7 separate regions of the Homo sapiens genome follow, and all the other regions are linked to region 3. The links are contacts of gene promoters, found by promoter capture Hi-C in blood cells and fetal thymus (Javierre and others, 2016). All regions are on one chromosome and are shown on one strand. The core of a region is centred on a gene start or on the middle of the fragment in contact, and the rest is flanking DNA. Distances in the headings are between cores, read along the strand shown. Region 1 has its middle 3.5 kb from the start of LINC01080. Region 2 has its middle 61 kb from the start of LINC01080. Region 3 holds the start of SPRY2 (sprouty RTK signaling antagonist 2). Region 4 has its middle 39 kb from the start of LINC01080. Region 5 has its middle 60 kb from the start of LINC00382. Region 6 overlaps LINC00382 (long intergenic non-protein coding RNA 382). Region 7 has its middle 22 kb from the start of LINC01080.

Region 1 (2,934 bases), core at 340-2,839, 330 kb after region 3:
AGTAATAGTAAACTATTAAAGCAGTAACTATCACATGATAAACATTCCATAAATATTTAGTAGTATCATTACTAATAAGATATGTCTGGTTTTTTTTTCCTGAGGAATGCCATATTCAGGGATACTGAGTGTTTACCCAAAGTGATATAGCTAGTAGGGGATGGGCCCAGGTTTGCAACCTAACTTTGCTTGCCTCAAGAGCTTATGCTGTTTTCATTATTCTATGCTGCCACTTAGTGACTAGTAAGTTTCGTCCCTACTGAAAGCACACTGTATATTATCAGGGAGAGACAACAAAAACCCAACCCATTACCCTTGATAGCTGACCCCAGTAATCTTTCAATTGACCTATGTATTTGTTTTTTTATTTGGAAAATAAAGATGCCATTACCTACTCTCCTTTGCTAATATGCTATTCAAATACTCAGTATAGTATATTATCATTTCTATATTATAGATTTCATCTATTATCTCTTTTGATCTTCAAAATAGAACAAATGTGACCTAATGGAAAGCACATTGAATTTCTATTTCCACTAACGTGAAAACATTGCTTAAGTTAATGAAATTCTTTGAGTCTCAGTTTAGTTACCTATAAAACTAGAGGGTAAAACTAGGTGTTCCCTCTGGCTCTTTTACTTGCTTTTTGTGTGAAAAAAAATTTAAAATATATTTATTTATTAATTTGTTAAAATATTAATTAACCTATTACATGTAGCTGTAAGTAATGCATTCTTTCAATAATCTTAGAAAATATAAATAAAGTTGCATAGGGATTATTCTAAATTTTAAGTGTGATAGCGGCCAAGAGAAAACAAATAATTTCTTCCAAGGACACCCAGAAAATAAATGATGAAATTCTAGGTCCCAGATCTTTAACTCCTAACACAAGTTTCTTTTCATTTTACCAAACTACACATTATTCTGATGGGCAAAGACACATTAATGATCTTGATGTGAATAATAATCTAACTAAGCAGATGATTGCTTTTGCCTTTAGGTAGATTGATAAACTTCAAAGCAATTAGCACCTATAATTGCTAAACTGAGAGCTAAGTGGCACTGGTGACCTGCCAAAAGAAAACAGTTGGCATAAGCTTTGTGAGTTACGCTTCATCAGTAAGCTTCATTTTAATCCAGTAAGGTCCACCCTGCCTGTCCCTGAATTGCCCTCTCGAGGCAAGTAACAAGTGTCACATTTCTTTTGAAATGGCTGGCACTGCTATGGTATCAGTTATCACACAATATTCCAAAAAGCAATTGTGATCTCGAGCTGTAAGGCACTGGCATCCACTTGGAAAAAATGAAGTTTAATGTTAAGCATCTGGCAGTTTCCATCATTGCTGGAAGTAACAAAAAGATCCAGAAGTCACCTGAGCTGTCTCTGAGTACTGTGAAAATGTCACTCGATATTTAAACTGCATGAGAAGTCACAAAACCTCAGGTTTCACAAAAGCAGAGCCTCAACTATCAAAGCTGTCAGGTCTTCAGAGATTGTCTAGTTTAATAATCTTATTTTATAATAAAGAAATTTGTCACCATTTGTGTGAGCAGAGGAAGAAGGACTCGGAGCGAGCATCTTCATTAGTTATTTTGTAGGGAACTATAGAAGTAAACAGATACTTGATAAACTGCAACCGCACTAGAGGCACCATGCATTTGCTAAATGCATGTTTATGTTTTTCCATAAAAATCCAAACTATTTAGGCTTTACTTCATATATAAGTATCCCAGCCTTTAAAAATGTTGGAAAGCAATAGAGGTAATATTAATAAAATGCAGCATCCCTGGCTTTCCTTTATTATTTTAGCCACATCCTGGTCAGATACAATTGTTCGCTGGCTCCTCTGATTCATCCTTCACACTGTCATCACTGACAATAACCTTCCAAAACAATTTTTCTTCCAAAAACAGTCCCAGCAAGGCAACCTGTGTTTTTCTCATAACGTTTTCTCCCCTGTCTTCATCCTGACAATCAATTTTCCCCAGTTGCTCTACAGCGCGATCACCAGTTTTGTTTTTGGTTTGGATAGTGACAAGAGTGCAAAAGCTTTTGGAGAAATTAATGAACTCTCTTTTGGACCTGTTTCAATAGGAGAACAATAATAATTTTAGAGAACAAAATGCTATAATTGTCAAAGTTATGCCATGGAAGCTTCTCTATGCCATGCGTATCCTCAGTTCCTAAGCCTTCTCTGTCCAGCCATACCTAATCATACCTGCATGCACCTTGTTCCCACAGTGATCCTCCATTCATAGCTCCAGTTGGGTGGAAAATGATGGGGAGCATCATAGCTAGCCCAGGGAGTCAGTCTTTCAGAACGAAGGAGAAGAAATTGCTGCTGATGTCAGTTCCTAAGAAGGACCTAAAGCTATTTGGTGTGGCAAGAAAAATATGATTTTCTTGAGTGACCTCTTGAATAAGTCTCATCACTCTCTAGGCCTAACATACATAACCAGAACATAAGTCCTTTTTCAGGCCCGAGACAAACTGACAAGATACCTGGCTCTTCCCCTTCCACTCTTCAGACAGCATGATATTATTTTTTGTGGCCTTTCTCTTTCGAGACTGTCCTCGATATTCAGTACATATAACCTGAACCCACTTGGACAAAAACATGGCTTAGAAGGCACTCAGAAGGTTGCTATCCTGAATCCAGGGTCTTTCAGGGAGAAAGTAGGCTGCAAAACTTAATAAACAAAGAGTCATTTGATGTAATTGAAGAGACAGAAGTTATATCAAGCCAGCACAGAAGAGAAAATATGAGCTTGCTGTTTCTTAGAAAGAGCATAAAACATTGGCAGCAAAAGTCTTGTCTCCTGGTTAATGAATTAATGAATAAAGGAAATAATCACAAATGGACCCTAGATCCAAGTGACCACATCATAATTCACTCATTTGTACATGATGGATAAATGACCTGTTTTATGATT
Region 2 (2,728 bases), core at 119-2,618, 390 kb after region 3:
GGTTCAAATATCCTTCTTTAGCTTGGAGAAGTTTGTTATTATCGACCTTCTGAAGCCTACTTCTGTCAATTCATCAAAGTCATTCTCCATCCAGCTTTGTTCCATTTCTGGTGAGGAGCTGTGCTCCTTTGGAGGAGAAGAGGCACTCTGGTTTTTAGAATTTTCAGCTTTTCTGCTCTGGTTTCTCCCCATCTTTGTGGTTTTATCTACATTTGCTCTTTGATGATGATGACCTACAGATGGAGTTTTGGTGTGGATGTCCTTTTTGTTGATGTTGATACTATTCCTTTCTGTTTGTTAGTTTTCCTTCTAACAGTCAGGACCCTCAGCTGCAGATCTGTTGGAGTTTGCTGGAGTTCCACTCCAGACCCTGTTTGCCTGGGTATCACCAGCAAAGGCTGCAGAACAGCAAATATTGCAGAACAACAAATATCGCTGCCTGATCCTTCCTCTGGAAGCTTCCTTTCAGAGGGGTACCCAGCTGTACAAGGTGTCATTTACTTATCATGGTTGATGTTGACCTTTGTCGTCTGATTGAGTTATTGCTTGTTAGATTTATCCACTTGAAATTACTCTTCCCTTTTCCACTCTTCATAGGTGGACTATAGAGCCAGGTTTTTGTAAGTTAAATGGATTATATTGCAGCTTTTAGAGTATAAGATTCATTGATATTACTGGAAAAAAATCCCTTGCTAAAATATTAAATAACAATGAATTGGCATAATTTTCCCAATTAAACTTCTGTTTGCTTTTCAAAATTTTAGAGGTGTTTCAGTAATTTGGCTCCATTTTCTGGCAAAAGTGGTATAAAAGGACATTCGCTAGTAAGGTCAGGTTGTTTTAATGAAGTTTTCTCATGTAATTCATACACAAACTATATGTAAAATCAGAAGAAATCAGATTTTATTTGTAGCAAAGCAAAATGATTATATTTTCCATATGCACTCAAAAATAAATAAAGTATACATAAAGAAAAGAAGAAATAATATATCTAAAACTTAATGGAAAATGTCTGGTCATAAGAGCTACATAATGGAGTGTTTTCTATACTATAGATCATTTTTATCATCATCATAAACAACACTCATAACAGGCATTATTCAAATAAAATGAAATTAAATTGGAAAGAGCATAATATCACTAAACCAAAATTTTGAAGATTTGAAGAAATAACTCTATATCTTTCCTTTTATAAATTCTCTTAACATCTCTTTTGCTACTTTAGTTCTTTTTCTCTTTTCATTTAAATTCTATCTTTAATGAGAGTTCAAATGTTCACATCTTAACAATAGATTTAAAGAGTTGTCACCATCATTAAGGGGTCCCAAATGTCCAAACTTCTGTCTGGGATAAAATTGAAATAAGGTTTTAAACTCTTATTTTATTTTCTATTTGGTTTTAAGTAATATAACATTAGCAAAACTCTTACATTGGTGTGAAACCACAGTAGGATTAAGAAGCAACTCAGATGGGCAAGTTCCAAGTGCTCCACTCTGAAAGGTCAATAAACATTACTGGACATTACTGGAATAAATCAGGGATATGGTGGCAGTTAATAAAGGCTTTCTCATTCAACTTCTAAAATAACCAGAGAAATAGAAATTATATTGAATGGAAATAGATTTTTTTAAAGCCCTTGCAGATATGCTCTTGATCAAGAGCGCCAAACTCTCTGAAGTCAGCTAGCATATAGTCATACAAAGTCAGCAGTTTCAGCAGAATTTCTGAAAAGTAATCATGGATGTCAAGCCCATTTTACAAGGAAAAAGTTATTTGTGATTACCTAAATTTTAGGAATTAGAATGCCTCCCAATAAGTTGTATTATGATGGGAAACAGCATGTAACAAAATATGTGATAAATTCCTTATTTTGCTTCATTTATTTATAATATTTGTGAATATTAAGTAGGATTAATGTACATGATATAAGATAGAAATGCACTATATGGCGTACAATGAAAAATCTCTCATTTTCCCCTGTGCCTCAAAAACCATTCCACTCCTCAAAGACAACCAGTTTTCATAAACTTCAGGAGATATTCCATTCATTTCTAAAATTATCCACAGAAATATTATTCCACATAAATGGGAAAATGCTATATATGTTGTTCTGCACCTTGTAATTTTTTTCCCTTAAAACATCTTGGAAAACTTTCCATATCACAAATACAGAATTTCATATTTTTTAAATGGTTTATAAGGCATTGCATTGTGTGGTAGAATGATAATTAATATATTAACTCTCACTGATGTACATTTTAGTTGTTTATAAGCTTTGACATTATAACTGATGTTCCAATTAATCTTCATCATACATCATCTCAAATGTATTCTTAAAATACTTGTTAAAACTACCCTATTGTGTATAATTTTCACTAATTGAAAACCAGCTTTTCATTAGACTTTAAGTAAATATGAAACTTATTTTCATAGAATATCAGTTTAAACAAGTAGATAAGGAGTTAATTTACTAAGGGCCCCCACAAGCCACAATTTTGACTTGGGTTTTTAGTGTTTTTCCTAAGATAGTTTACATATTCAGAGACACCAATCAAGATACAAGGTCAGAAAAAAAAGAGGGAGTTTTTAAAATTATGAATTTATTTATATGAAGGTTTTTAAACATTATGCAAACTGTCTCACTTATACATTTAAGAAATGATCAACTTCTTGAAATTAAAACTTTACCAAAAATTCCAAGGCTTATGATTACCATTCACATAGAAAT
Region 3 (3,000 bases), core at 108-2,607:
GTGTATGCGCAAGTTTTAATTTTCCACTGGTGCTCCCACGTGAAGGCACATTTCTTAGTAAATGAACGGCAGCTAGGACAGTGCATATGTATGCATTTTCTATCTTTATTTTTTTTTTGTAAATGGGAAAGAATAGTGCACCTTCAACATGGACAACAGAATCTTGAGAAATGTTCTAGGTGGCAAGAAAAGTGGGAAATGAAGGATGACTTTTAGTTAAGGGAAGAAGGAAATCTGCAGTGAGCCAACCCTTCCCTCCCCCCCGCCCCCCCATTTCGGAAGCCCATGCTGTCGCCCTGAGTAATCTTGTTCCTGTCTATTAATGAATTAAGTTAAAAGGCTTAGACTGTAGACTTTAGCTACTGCATGAAGCAAAATAGTAAGGAAGCTCTTCAAAAAGCCTCCATTCATAGATAACCCCCCTTAAAAATGAAATTCTAATAAACGGAAAAACTACAAGTCGACACAATCAAAAGCAAATCCCAGCAAGAGCAGAAGGTACTTGAAACTCGAATCTGCATTCCGTTCCTCCCGTACAAGGCTCGGAGGTGGGGGAGGCGGTTTGTGCTGGTGCCTGGTGTATAATCGGGTTAATCCAGTAGACAAAGAATAAACCAATAGCCCTCCCACCTCACTTCCCGCTCCCCTTCCCCTCCCCCTTCTTCTCCCCCCGCCCCAGCCCCCGTCACCCGCTCCGCAAAGGGGAACAGAAAAGGGGAGAGGTAGACTTGAAATGGATTCTGGATAAAGTCTTAAAACCTGCAACTTGTTTTTCATGCTAACACTGCGTGGCCCAGATTAGTCTTAAATGTTCATTCCCCTTTCCTGGTGGCAAGGAGAAAGTTCCCTAAGTCAGCTCGAGCCTCTGGCTCGTCCTCATTGCCTCTGGGCAAACCTTAAGGTCAGTGTTTCCTTGAAACTAGATAAACTGACCCTGCAGTGCCCAGCCCGGCCCCGCGGGCGCCCCGCGTGACGGCGCTCGGGCGGCAGGACCGGCCTGGGGACGCGCGGGGCGGCGCGGTTGCCCTTTTGAATGCCTCCTGCGGCTCGGAGCGCTGGCGGGCGCTGGAGTGTGAGTGAATGTAGCCCCGCGGAGCCAATGAGCTGGGACCGGATGCGATATATCCTCTGGGACAACAACTGCTCTGTTCCGCCTCGGATCCACATGACGCCATTTACTGCTGCCGCGGCCGCCGCAGAGCTCCCTGCCTCCTCCGGAAAGGCGAGGGCGCAGGCCAACGGCGAGCCCCCCCCGGGCGGGCCCCAGACCCTCCTCCTCCTCCTCCTCCTCCTCTTCCTCCTCCTCCGCACCCACCGCCCCCGCCTCGGCCTCGCTGCCTCGCCTCCACAACGCCCAGTCTGCACCGCCGAGAGCTGCGCGCCGCAGCGCTAGCGGAGGAGAGGGGCCGGCGGAGCGCGCAGCGCCCAGGCCCCCGCGCCCGCCCGGCCCGGCCCGGCCCGCGCCCCCGCGCCGCCTCCGCTACGACGCGGCCCCGGCCGCACCACTTGGCGATCTGGCTTTAGGTTCTCCGTAAGGCCGTTTTCTTTTCCCATTCGCTCATCTGCCAGGAAAAGGGACTTGCCGTTGGCGCTTCGGCCTCTTGTTCATTGAGAAAAAAGAGGAAATACTCCGCGTGCGCTTGTAGAAGGGGAGTCGTCTCCAGCTCCGAACCCCGGAGTGTTCATCAGCGGGGAATCTGGCTCCGAATTCTCTTTTTTTCTCCCGCCGATTGCTCGGAAGTTGGTCTAAAGCAGAGGTTGGAAAGAAAGGAAAAAAGTTTGCATCGAGACTGGATTTATTTGCACATCGCAGAAAGAAGAGAATCCAAGGGAGAGGGGTTGGTGCAAAGCCGCGATCACGGTGAGGCACGTTTGGCTCTTCCCCTCCTGGCGCCGCGGCCGGCGCGTTGTGGGCAACATGGAGTAGGTGCAGCCGGACCAGGAGTTGGGTCCGTCTCTCCCCGAGCCTCCCTTTCTCAAATCCCGCAGGGTCTTCGCGAGGATCCGGGGCGCTCCCCGCGGACCTGCCTCGCCCGGGGCTTGGGCTCGGCCTGCCTCTGCGGGGACTTCTGTATGCACCCCGTGCAGTGTCCCCGACAGGCGACCCCGCGCGCCCGCGCTCTAGGGGGTTGGGACGGAGGACAGCTAGCCTGAAGTCTGCTCCCAGCCGTGCACTGGCCGCGAATTCGGCGCTGAGAGCGGGAGAGGGAGAGAAAAACACTTTGTATTTTCCAGGTTGCCTTTGCAGGCGCCCGCATTTCTAACCTGTTCTTCCTCTTGGTGGAAGGCAAAGTCCAGGGAGAGGCTGTCCCTAGGCGGGGCGCTGGTGGGGCTGGGGGACACAGGTTGCCCGCCTCGGGGGCAGGAGACTTCCAGGGTGAGAAAAAGGCAGGGTGCCGGGTGGAGGGAGTGCCCGCCTCTGCTCCGTGTGGACAGTCTAGCCCGGAGCGGGTGGGAGCGTCGCCCTGCCTGGCGCCGGGTCTCTGCGGTTCGGAAGTGCAGCTCTCTCTCTTCCGTTCTTCGTGGTCAGCCTGGGTCACACTTATTTTATTTTTGGAAGCTCGGGCTGACCCAGCGCAGGAAGAAAGTCATCAAGCGGTCGCGATCATTTTCCATTACCTGAAAGTAGGTGGCAAAATAGGCAATTTTTTATTTCCTTTTGTTGTTGTTGTTGCTGTGTTTTAATTTGGATTCTTGTGTGTTTTTTACAAAGCAGTTTCTGTGTCCGTTTGCCCCACCCTAGAGCTGAAGTTCTTTTCCCCTAATCCTCAGTCTGATCACACACTGTTCTTAATGGGGGTTTCAAAGCACTTTCAAAGGGGAGGGGGGACTGGGAAAGAGAAGAGGGGCGGAGGTAGGGAGTCCAGCTTTGAAGAAGGAGGCCAGGGATCGGATCGGCAGAAATCACTTAAAAAATAAAAACAAAAAAGCCCCCTTTTATTTCAAAGATGCTACTTTGACTGCAAGCAAATCTGCACCGAAAGTTTACAGCTCCGGGAG
Region 4 (2,857 bases), core at 150-2,649, 370 kb after region 3:
CATCCTAGCAACAAAGAGCAGACAAGCCACAGAGTTGTCCACCGAGGACTGGATGAAGAGGCTCTGCCTGGGGCCCATTTTGGTGGTGGCCACCGGAGGGGTGTATACAAGGCCTGCAGCCACACTATGGCATGGAACCAAATGTTCAAAGTCTAAATGAGCTGAAGGTCATGAGCCCTGTGACAAAGGTGTGAAAAGGAAACAGATTGTGTTCCTGTGGGCTCAGGATAGGAACTGGTGCGCCCCTCCCTGCACCATCCCCAGAGACCTCAGTGCACTCCAACACAGTCTCCTCTGACCACTCCCATCGGGGTGGGAACTTCCACTCATTATTAGTTTTCCTGAGTTGGCTCTTACTCTTAAGCACCACCTACTGGACTGGAGGCTAAACTGCACCACTAAATAAAAAAAAAAAAAATCTGCCAGAAGGGCTTAGTGCTTAGTGGATGAGATAAGCTTTCTGAGACCTCCACATCCTCAGCCATGCACGAGACAGCATGTTGGCTCTTATGTCCAATACATCACTACAACAAGCAACATCTGAGAAAGCCACCACATAGAAGCTATCCACAACCAAGGAACCCATACAGAGCTTTGACCCCATGAAAGCACCCAGAAATTAAACCAATCATACGTAACATACAACACAGTCATATTCTCAAGGGAAAAAAGAATAAAAATTTTAAAAGTCCCATTCAAAGAATAGCAAATTCAAAAATAAGAAATAACAGCTCCCTTAGATGAAAGGGAATCAGTGCTTGAACTTCAGCAATACAAAAAGACAAGTTGTCTTGACAGCTCCAAAGGATTGCACTAGCTCTCTAGCAATGTGTCCTAACCAAAATGAAAAGTCTGAAATAAACTGAAATCTACATTTTGATAAAGAATTCAAAATGTAGATGACAAAGAAACTCAACAAAATCCAAGAGAAAGTTGAAAATAGAAACAAAGAAACCAGAAAAAAATGATTCTGGATATGAAACACAAGATAGCTATATTTTAAAAAAAGCAAATAGAACTTTGAAATTGAAAAATATTCACTAAAGAACTTCAAAATATAATTGGAAGCTGAAACAATAGACTAGATCAAGCAGAAGAAAGAATTTCAGAGCTTGAAGACCAACCTTTCAAATTAACCCAGTCAGACAAAAATAAAGAAAAAATAATTTTAAGAAATGAACAAAGCTTTTGAGAAATATGAGATTATGTAAAATGACCAAACCTATGACTTACTGGCATTCTTGAAAGAGAAGAAAAAATAAGCAACTTGGAAAACATATTTGAAGGAATAATTCAGGAAAATTTCCCTATTCTTGCTAGAGAGTTCAACATCCAGATACAAGAAATTCAGAGAACACCTGCAAGACACTATACAAAATGACCATCCCCAAGGCAAAAAGTAATGAGATTATCCAAGGTCAATGCTGAAGAAAAAATCTTAAAGATAACTAGAGAAAAGGGCCAGATTACCTACAAAAGAAATCTCATCCCACTAACAGCAAACTTTTAAGCAGAGACCTTACAAGCCAGAAGAGATTGGAGGCCTATTTTTAGCCGTCTTAAACAAAAAGAAAATTAGCCAAGAATTTTATATCCTGCCAAACTAAGCTTCATAAATGAAGGAGAAATAAAGTCTTTCCCAGGCAAGCAACTGCCAAGGGAATTTATCACTACCAGACCAGTTCCACAAGAAATGCTCAAAGGAGCTCTAAATAACACCAAAAGGACAATACTTACCAACCATAAAAGCACACATAAGTACAAAGTTTACAGATCCTATAAAGCAATTACACAATTGAGACTACAAAGCAACTAGCTGACAACACTATGACTTCACATATCAATATTAACCTTGAATATAATGACCTAAATACTTCGCTTAAAAGACATAGATTGACAAAATGGATTTTTAAAAATGATCCAATTATCTACTTCCTTTAAAAGACCCATTTCATATATAATAATACCTACAAGATCAAAGCAAAGGGATGGAGGAAGATCTATCATGCATATTGAAAACAAAAAAAAAGAGCAGGGATTGCTATTCTTTTATCGGATAAAACAGACTTTAAACCAAAACCAGTGGAAAAAAAATACAAAAAAATGGCATTATACAATTATAAAAGATTCAATTCAACAAGAAGATTTAACTATCCAAATATAGAAAACATATCTGAGTGAATAACTCAGGAATATCCTGAGTATGCACCCAACATCAGAGCACCCAGATTTATAAAACAAATACTACTAGACTTTAAAAAAAGAGATAAGCATACAATAATAGTTGAGGACTTCAACACCCTACTGACAGCACTAGACGGATCATTAAGGCAGAAAACTAATAAACTGAGGACATAAATTGTACTCTTGACCAAATGGACATAATAGACACCTATGGAACATTCCACCTACCAATGCAGACTATACATATTTCTCAGCTGTGCATGGAACATTCTCTAAAATAGACCATATGCTTGGTCAGAAAGCAAGTCTTAATAATGTCAAAACATTGAAATCATATCAAGCATCGTCTCAGACCACAGTAGAATAAAATTAGAAATCAACACCAAGAGGAACTCTCAAAACCACACAAGTACATGGAAATTAAACAGTTTGCTCCTGAATAACGTTTGAGTAAACAAAAATTATGGCAGAAATCAACATTTTTTAAAAACCAATGGAAACAGAGACACAACATACCAAAACCTCTGGAATACAGCAAAAGTAGCTAAGAGGAGATTACAGCACTAGATGCCTACATCTACAATATAGAAAGATATTAAATTAACAACTTAATATTGCATCTAAAGGAACTGAAAAACCAACATTCAAACAAGCAGAACCAGAAATGATAAAG
Region 5 (2,727 bases), core at 56-2,555, 410 kb after region 3:
GAATGCTATTTTTTCAGTCTCCTTCTCTCTCTTGACTACAAATAAAATAAAATAAAAAATGGCAGTGGGAAATGTTCATGGAAGAACCAGAAGGTGGAAGTTTGTGTGTTGGGGGGGTGGTGTTTAGAAATGGAGATGTCACTATGTTGCCCTGGCTGGCCTTAAATTCCTAGGCTTTTGATAATGCTTAAATGACTATGTGTTATATCATAAAATTGGAGATAATTATTTTCAGAAAAAAAATATGTAACAGGATAAGATTCCCAGGAGATTGCTGTTTTATCTAGAACACATTTTCAATGGGACGTCAGATGAGTGGGTAACAGGGCATTGGGGCTACCACGGAGTTCCAATGTGCCTTATGGAGCTAGACCCTGAAGGTGGTAGAAAGGGGAGTAACAGAGATCTCTCATGTGCCTTTGAGGATACCTGGGCCACCTGGCAAGAAGCCAGGTATTACTATTGGATGGAAAATGTCCTGAGGCTAGAAACAGCCAGTCCAACATCTAAGTCTAAGGTATAAGCCTAATTCAGGACACAGAAGCTTCCATGATAAACACTCTTAAGTTGGAAAAGCAGGCAGTAAGGGTGAGGCCATGGCTACCATCAGCTGGTACAATCTACCTGCAGCCATGCCTGACTGTCCACTCACACAGGACACATCTTTGGAGGGATGTGGCCCTTAGGTTTACCAGGTAGGAGAAAATACTAGAAAAGCACAGCTCCCTGGAGTAGTGGAATGAATCTATCATCAATACCATTCCTACAGTTATTCTGCAATTAACATGGTACAGTAGGCAACAATTAGGAAAAAAAAAAAAACTCTTAAAAAGAGCTTTATATTTTACATGCTCCAGACCCCACAAAACTCTAATTTACCCTTGGGATTACCATTTATGAGGTGGAAGTAGCAAAAGAGTTTTTGGCGAGAGAAGGGAAGTATACAATTGGTTTCTTGATATGCCTGGCTTGAAGCACTATAGAATTTAGGCAAAGCAGTCCATTTGATAGCTAAATATAGTCTCACTAGTAGGACTGAAAATCAATTCTTCTGATAAGTTCTGTACACTGGGGTACACAACTTTTGAACCACATCATATGTCTTTCATTTAACAAAGACAAGTGTAGAAACATTACACTTGATCTAGGCAGTCTTGCAAAAGTTAGTTGACAATTTCCAAGCCCTCATTATTTCATTTTGTGTGTGTGTCTTTAAAAACACATAATGCAAACAGAGATATGAAGACTGGTCTCACACTAAAGGAATTTCCTTTACTGCCAATAACTTCAGAAATAAGGAAGGAAGTATTGACTATCTTCAAAGCAGGTTCTTTATGCCATTTTCGAGTTGTGGGGACGGATTTATGCTCCTCCAGCATGCTTTTTCCCTTGACTCTTTTATAAATGAAGGCAGGTGTTCACAAGGCAGTAGACTAGGGTAAGATGTGCCCTTTGGCCATGGAGTACAGCAAAGCTATCTGTACTATAAGGGGGTTGTCGCACCTGTGCCTTGATCCTTCTTTAGCAGAGGTTTAGGACCCGTCGGCATACACTCCACATAGCGGTGTTCTGTTCAGTCTGAGGCTAGAACAGGGAGGCCCTGACATTACTATTTTTATCATGGTTCCTTGGTAATAACCATAAAGAAAGTACAGAACCATTATCCTCAAGGTAAAAATTAATGCACAAGAGGTACATAGTAGAGATTAAATTCAAATGAAGGACTTCTGAAACCCTGTCAGCCAGGCCAATAATATAACTCATAGACCATTTCACCTCCATACAGTTACTTTACAGCACTTGGGTGTTTTCTGTATGCTCCATTAAAATCCTACTCTGGTGGGAAAAACCAGATTTCCAACTGGTGATTTTATGGATTCAATAAAATTTAAGAAATTCTGCTTATGGAAAACCTCATTACCCAAAACTAATAAATAAGAGTTTACCCTGCAGTCTGGTTCCTCTTTATTTGACAGAATTAAAAATCACTCTGGAACAACTTAGTTCATTTTTCACTTGTTAATTGAGCTTAATAGTTTAGTAACTCCCTTTCTGTTCTAAGCTTGTGAACTCTTCATTCTTTCCGGCAGCACTTGCATTCTCTCACTCTTAACTTTACAGAGCATACATTTACAAAGAAGTTTAATAGAAATAAAGAGCACAGGCGAAGGGGGAAGAAATAAGAACATTTTATTTGGGGTGAAGCAATGACTTAAGGCTCAGCCCAGTCTTTGGGGATGGGTATCAGGTTGCACTACACTGTTAGAAGGATATTTTGTCAAAGCCTCAGGTGCAATGTCCACGTGAGGGACAATTTTATTATTGAATACATGTCACAGCAGATTTCCACTTATGTTTGGCATTTATAGAAATTGCAAAGAGCCAAAGTTGTGCCTGGAATGGACAAAACCTTTCAATCAATTTCACCTTCTGGCACAAAGATTTATTCTTTGGAAGGCTATTAATGTACAAATGTTTGCTTGTTTGTGTTTCCTGCAACACTTATCATATGTCTTTTTTAAGTAGGAATTTATTAAAAGCAACTTTGAATATGATGGTGTGTTACAATCTTTAGAATAAAGTGCAAAACTCAAAAGACAATACCAAAGTTGGTCAAGATACTTCTGTCACTCTTCAGTTTTCCATCCAACTCCTGATACATACTCCAACCATACCCGTTCTAGTCAGGTAACTAATTCCACATCCATCCTAGATTGTCTGTACCAA
Region 6 (2,814 bases), core at 314-2,813, 430 kb after region 3:
AAGGGGATAGGTAGAGTACTCTTTTCTTCTCTTGCTCCCACCGGGAAGAATATGCTGCTATTACTTTTTTTGTTTTGTTTGTGTGCTTTGATTCTTTCCTGTAGAAATAACAAGAATAAAAGTATTTGGTGTAACCTAACTTTCTCTATTGTAAGTCTGTGCTAATTACCAGAAGGTCAAACAAATTGAACCTGTAGTTTATGACAGTTTTATAAATAAACATTTTATGTGTAATTGATCCCTAGTGTTCTTTGAAATGCCAATTAGGAAACTCTTGCTGCTTTATAGCCATTAGTCAGGGAAAGATGGACTGATGACTTCACAGTGGTGTGAGAATAGCTCACTGCCTTACTCCTAAAAGGCAAAGTTAAAAAGGGGCAAGGGACATCTTTCAGGTAAAAGAGGTGTATATGAAAATGAAAATCCAAGAACAACTGTCACAGCTGATAGCTAGGTAGCCACAGCACCCTTCTTGTAAGTGTCTTTGCACTGATTGCTTTGGGGGCCTGCCTTCTCCATTAAACCTTGGAGGTCAGAGATGACATCTTATTCATTTCCTTTTTCCTGGAATGTTCTGTGATGCTTAAATCAGATTAGGCACCTGTCATGCATTTACAGAATTAAACTGACAGCAAGTGATTTGGAACAACAGTACTTATAAAAATATACTCACTAACACTTAGATACTGAAGTTGAGTCTTACATTCAAAGTAAAATAGAGAAACACCGTATTTACCTAGGTATTTCTGGCCAGATTATACAGCTCATTTGTGGCAGAAAAAGATGACAAAAAGTATAAATATCTTAGAACATTTGTATTGTTCAAATGCAATGTTTATCTACACAATTTATTTTTTGAATCAATGTGGGGAACTTTACTAATATCCTGGGTAAATGTCACTACTTGGTTATAATCTGTTGAGGTGGTTTTGTATTCTTGGTTCTTCTGTCGTGAAAGTAATCCTCAGTGCTCTGGGTCATCTGGAATAACCGGGAATAACCCTGCCCTCAATGTTCTCATCCAAAACTTTGATAAAGTATTACATTCATGGCCAATGAAAGAATTCAGTGGTGCAAAAATTCAGAATTTCATTTAACTAATCAACAATCTTGGAATGTCGGTTTTCAGTCTCCAGCTATGTTCTCATCCAGCCTGGCTTTCTTTAATATACACAAGGATATACCAAGATCTTGTCAAATACTTGGCTGACAAAGATATATTTTGATTCTACTGTAATTGTAAGTCTACCGTTACTATGGTATCTGTCCCAAAGCTGACACTTACCTATTGCATAATAGAGCTAAAACAATCATGAAGATTGGCATGGTTAAGATTCTTATGAACAGAAAGATCAGTGCATGCCAGATAGGGTTCACACTGGACTACATACCTTCATAGACTTGTCTTCGCTGACATTAATACATTCACTGCCATTAAGCTTATATTTATTAAACATATGGCCAGTAACTTAGCTTCCTCAGTCTTCCTTGCCTTTGAGCTGTTGGGATGTGAATCGTATACTTAATATGCTTGTTTTGTAATGCCTTCGTTTTCCTCTGAAATGTCAAGTAAATTCCATAAAATACCTTTAGTTTATGGCTTTTGGATTTTTAAGCATAGCCCTTTGAAGTTATAGACAGATCATGGTGCCAGAGTGAATTAATTGGAACATTTCCCATAAGCTTTAAGAATATTTTAAAAACTAGAAAATTAAGTGAGAGAATCCCAGTATGTATGAGAATTTAATAAAGACAAAAATAGTAATTTATATATGTATATACACATATATTTAATCACATATTATATAAAATAACATGAATGTATGTATTTAAAAGAATTATAAAATGAAATTTATAAAAAAGGGACTAAGCATAGATACTATGTGAACAAGTCAAAATACCATTTCTAACAAATTGAAACTGTTAAACTAAATTAATTAAATAATTTCTGACACTGTCATGTCAGCTCTTACTATCACAATGTTTCAAAATTACAAAGTGCTTTCCCATTAGTTATCTCACATGAAACTCAAACCATGCCTATGATTAAACATAAGGATGAAAAACAAATATCAAGAATCACTGTCATATGCAACTTGCATCCAATTTTGTAAACTTAGCTCAAGAAATTGATAATGCTTTCAGGTTGAATTTCTAAAGTCATTTCCTAAAAGAAAAGATTAAATTATACACTTTTATTTAAAATTTATTACCATTTTTTAAGACCACGACATCTAAATGATGCTAAAAGCAAAGTATAGAAATGGAACACTTAGAGGCAAGAGGCTGGGCCTGAGAATTTCAGTATTCCACCCATGAAGCTGTGGGTCCTAACACGCTTTTAAAAAGACCCAGCTGAGCTGGGAATGGGAGAATCACAGCTTCTAATCTCAGCTTTACAGAGAACTTGCAATGTGACTTTGAGTAAATCACTTGACCTTTCTGAGCTTTTGATTCCCTATAGGTAATAATCCTGGCCTTATCTCCCTCATTGTTTCAAAAATAAAATGAGATGGATGATTTATGTGAAAGCACTTTGAAAAGTAAAATGTGCTATATTATTATTCAAACAAGGCATTATCCTCTCAAACCTACTTAGAAGGGGTTTGTAAATGAAATACTGCATATTAATGTGATCTTGGTCTTCAGAGAACTTGGGTTCTCTGGGCACCATTACAGTCTCAGCTATTTTTCAGCACAGCATAAATTATGTGCTCCAAACAAGTACTCAATACCCTTCAGAAGCCTGAGAGGCGAGTGTGAGGCTGCTTAGTGCCCCTAAAATAGGTACGACTGTACAGAAAGGAAGAGCGT
Region 7 (2,978 bases), core at 439-2,938, 350 kb after region 3:
GTGGTGACATAAAAAATATGGAAAGAAAGTATTTTAAGGGAGCAATCAGTTGTGTTTCTATTAGTGAGAGATTAGGTAAGACAAAGACTTACAAATGCTCACAGAAATCATTTGTGGTCTCTTAAAGATCTGCTGGAGTATAGCAATTAGAATGAAAGGCTAAGTTGAGTCATGGCTGGGAGCGGGGACAGAGATAGTAAGACAATTCTTTTGAGAAGATGTGTTCTAAACAGCTACAGAAAACTAGAGGGAGAAATAGTGGAGGGGGAGGGAGTTGCCCACCCCCACTGAAAATGCATCTGCATATTTAAATGTGCCAGTAAAGAAAGACGTTAAAAATAAAGAGTGAGAGGGAATAATCAGATTTCAGCCTGTAAGAAGAGGGAAAAGGAAGAAAATATTTTTCATTTTGACAGGGAAGAGAAGGAAACTATTGAGTTGTATAAAAGTAAATTGAGAAAATTACTGTTGCATTATTTGTTTTCTCTATTAAATAGAAGATCACGGGCTAATAGCTGAGGGGGCTTCTGGGGTGGGGTGATGGACTTTTGAGAGGCATAGGTATTGTTGAAATACTACATGGAATCATTGCTTGTTGACCAGGAAAAATATAGTAGTGCATTAGAGAGCCACAAGTGCCCCATCAAAATGAAAGACATAAATATGTAGTGGACCAATTCTGACCACTGTATGATTTTTCTCTTGAAATGTCAGTGAGCTGCATGCAAAAGCAGAGAATGTAGCAGTAGAATGTATTAAGGTTTGTAGGGTTTTCTCCAATGAGGAATGGCGGAATGACCACAGAATAGAGGTTTTAGCAAACTGGTAAACAAAAGGATGAAGTAATGGCATGACTAAGGAGCTAAGTAAAGACAGGAGGGACCTAATGGGGAGAGGGACAAGGGACTCTATAAAATAAAGCACTAAAGTCAAAGAGCTGGTGTTGGGAACAATAAAGTGAGAGAGATGGTGAGGAATGCATGGTTAAGAATGACTGTGACTACTTTATTTGAGAGATGGTGCAATCTGCATGTGATAAGATCTAGGGTGTGACCATGGAGTGGGTGCCTGGGGTGGCGGAAAATTCTGGAAGCTGAAGCAGGCAAGGAACCTTGAGGCAAAGTTGTCAGTTGGAGTCACCCAGGATGGTGTCAAGCCAGAGGGTGGAGAGAATGACTGCCGGCCAGGTGCCTAGGTCTTCCAAGAGATTACTACCATATCATCAGCAAATAGGCGAGAAGTAAAAAGTCAAAAGCTTCCCACAAAGGCAAAACATATTAAGGCAATTACCTGAATGATTTGATTAAAATCCTTGTCCTGGTTTTCTAGGAAAAAGAAACTTAGCCTGTTTTGGCATAAATGAATTTACGTGAGAATTTACAATGTCTCAAACCATTTTTCCTGTTTGAATAGTTAGCCACTAGTAGTTTACCTCTGGTCCCAACTGGCCATTAGCCTGAGGATGGATTAACATTGGACTTACTGCCAATGAATGTGCAGAAAGAAATCCTCTCAACGTTCTTCTCTGTTGGGTTGGCCAAATCACAAAGAAAGAGCTTGCAGTAGAGAGTCTGGAATGGAGAATATGCAATGACACTAAAAGTATCTCTGCATTTTACTCTCTGAGTCTGAACATTGCTTGTTCACATCAGCTCCGTGGCCCCATGACTCAGCCCTGTCGTAAAAGAGTATTTTTTTAAATAGTGATAATACTTTGTACTGTTTAATGTACTCTGTAAGGCAAGATAAACTAGCAACTTCCTTGCCCTCCAGGAGCTAACAATTGTGTGCCTATATTTAGCTGTCTAAAATCATAGATTAAACCATTTAAACTTCTTTATATGAACTAAGTATAAGTAAATTAATAAGTGCTTTCAAGTGGTGATAAACAGGGGAATTCTTAAGGAAGGCTCATCAGAAATATTGCCATCTATCTTATTCCAATACAGGGAATTATAGCATCTACTTTCTAAGCACGTGTACCCAGAGCTGAGGAAAACACCAAAAGAAGGCACACACATTGTATGTTCACTGAGGACACTTACAGTCTTGTTTGGAACATATATATAATACATATGGAACATTCATAAAATATAAGATGTATCAACTATTGAAAGCTTCTGAAATAAATAAATGGTATTTTTATTATAGGAAGGGTACCTCTGTTTGCTCAAAGATGGGTGAGATGGCTCTTGTTATTGTGTAGCTCACAGTATATGGGAGAAAGCAGATGTGTGTACAGGTAAGCTACACTATGTCATATGCAGAGACTTGTGGGCCAGAGAGGAGAAATCATTTACAGGGGCAGTTAAGAACATTCTCAAAGAGTAGGTGACCTTGGAACCAAGTCTAGAAGGCATTGTAGAAACTTGCTAAGGTGGGAGAGGGAAGGTGAAAGATGGGCCTTCCAGGTATGAGCCTCCTCTGAAGTTGCTTCCTCTGACTAACATCACTCTAAATGACTCTCTTGCTCTGTAATCCATAGTTAATTAAATATTTTTGGAACTAGAAGGATGAAACTCCAGAGATTCTATGATTCAGAAATTCAGTGGTGAAAACTGAAATCCAAAACAAAAGAAGTGTTTATTAGAGCTCCTACAGCTCAAAGGGGATAAATTGAAACTAAGCAATGTCTGTGGAATAAATAATTGCACAGGCTAACCAGCGCTGGGACCAAATCTGTAGAGGAAGGAAATAAAAATAAGTGCTAAGGGCAAAAATTCAACTCTGAATAGTATCTCCAGTGGTTATGGCAATACTTATTCTTACTGCTCTTAGCATTCTGCTCAATGCCATTCAATGCCATAGTAATTAAATGAGACAACTTGGTTAAACTAAGCTTAATTGTTCTATTGCCTTGTACAAATATTCTGTGCTTGTTTATGGTATTTTTGAAATTGCAACTGAGTCATTTACCTTGGGTGTGGACCCCAAGCCCACAGTGAGCAATTGTTTATTGGGAGGGACAGGCAAGGCAG

Evidence for each region. The method cuts DNA at HindIII sites, captures the fragments that hold promoters and counts their contacts. A CHiCAGO score of 5 or more calls a contact.
Region 1: a contact is called between a fragment that was not itself captured here and the fragment with the promoter of SPRY2 in region 3, in 5 of 17 cell types (M0 macrophages, monocytes, M1 macrophages and 2 more). The highest score is 9.4, in M0 macrophages.
Region 2: a fragment that was not itself captured here is called in contact with the fragment with the promoter of SPRY2 in region 3 in 3 of 17 cell types (M2 macrophages, M1 macrophages and neutrophils); the score reaches 7.1 in M2 macrophages.
Region 4: a fragment that was not itself captured here is called in contact with the fragment with the promoter of SPRY2 in region 3 in 6 of 17 cell types (M2 macrophages, M0 macrophages, erythroblasts and 3 more); the score reaches 9.4 in M2 macrophages.
Region 5: a fragment that was not itself captured here is called in contact with the fragment with the promoter of SPRY2 in region 3 in 2 of 17 cell types (endothelial precursors and M0 macrophages); the score reaches 7.1 in endothelial precursors.
Region 6: a contact is called between a fragment that was not itself captured here and the fragment with the promoter of SPRY2 in region 3, in 3 of 17 cell types (M0 macrophages, M2 macrophages and M1 macrophages). The highest score is 6.5, in M0 macrophages.
Region 7: a fragment that was not itself captured here is called in contact with the fragment with the promoter of SPRY2 in region 3 in 4 of 17 cell types (M0 macrophages, M1 macrophages, M2 macrophages and 1 more); the score reaches 8.7 in M0 macrophages.

The regions. Positions count from the first base shown.
Region 1 is chr13:80,006,065-80,008,998 of GRCh38, reverse strand. No RefSeq gene overlaps it. Among named protein-coding and RNA genes, the nearest start is that of LINC01080, 3.5 kb to the left of the region's middle. The HindIII fragment of the contact is 926 bases long and covers 1,127-2,052 here.
Region 2 is chr13:79,948,822-79,951,549 of GRCh38, reverse strand. No RefSeq gene overlaps it. Among named protein-coding and RNA genes, the nearest start is that of LINC01080, 61 kb to the left of the region's middle. The HindIII fragment of the contact is 1,815 bases long and covers 461-2,275 here.
Region 3 is chr13:80,339,483-80,342,482 of GRCh38, reverse strand. SPRY2 (sprouty RTK signaling antagonist 2) reads left to right here and starts at 1,357. Exons shown (of 2, transcript NM_005842.4): 1 at 1,357-1,861. RefSeq lists silencers at 940-989, 1,220-1,409. The HindIII fragment of the contact is 9,098 bases long and covers 1-3,000 here.
Region 4 is chr13:79,971,133-79,973,989 of GRCh38, reverse strand. No RefSeq gene overlaps it. Among named protein-coding and RNA genes, the nearest start is that of LINC01080, 39 kb to the left of the region's middle. The HindIII fragment of the contact is 423 bases long and covers 1,188-1,610 here.
Region 5 is chr13:79,931,306-79,934,032 of GRCh38, reverse strand. No RefSeq gene overlaps it. Among named protein-coding and RNA genes, the nearest start is that of LINC00382, 60 kb to the right of the region's middle. The HindIII fragment of the contact is 1,518 bases long and covers 547-2,064 here.
Region 6 is chr13:79,911,080-79,913,893 of GRCh38, reverse strand. LINC00382 (long intergenic non-protein coding RNA 382) reads right to left here. Exons shown (of 6, transcript NR_120413.1): 3 at 1,392-1,499. Among named protein-coding and RNA genes, the nearest start is that of LINC00382, 40 kb to the right of the region's middle. The HindIII fragment of the contact is 244 bases long and covers 1,442-1,685 here.
Region 7 is chr13:79,987,433-79,990,410 of GRCh38, reverse strand. No RefSeq gene overlaps it. Among named protein-coding and RNA genes, the nearest start is that of LINC01080, 22 kb to the left of the region's middle. The HindIII fragment of the contact is 862 bases long and covers 1,258-2,119 here.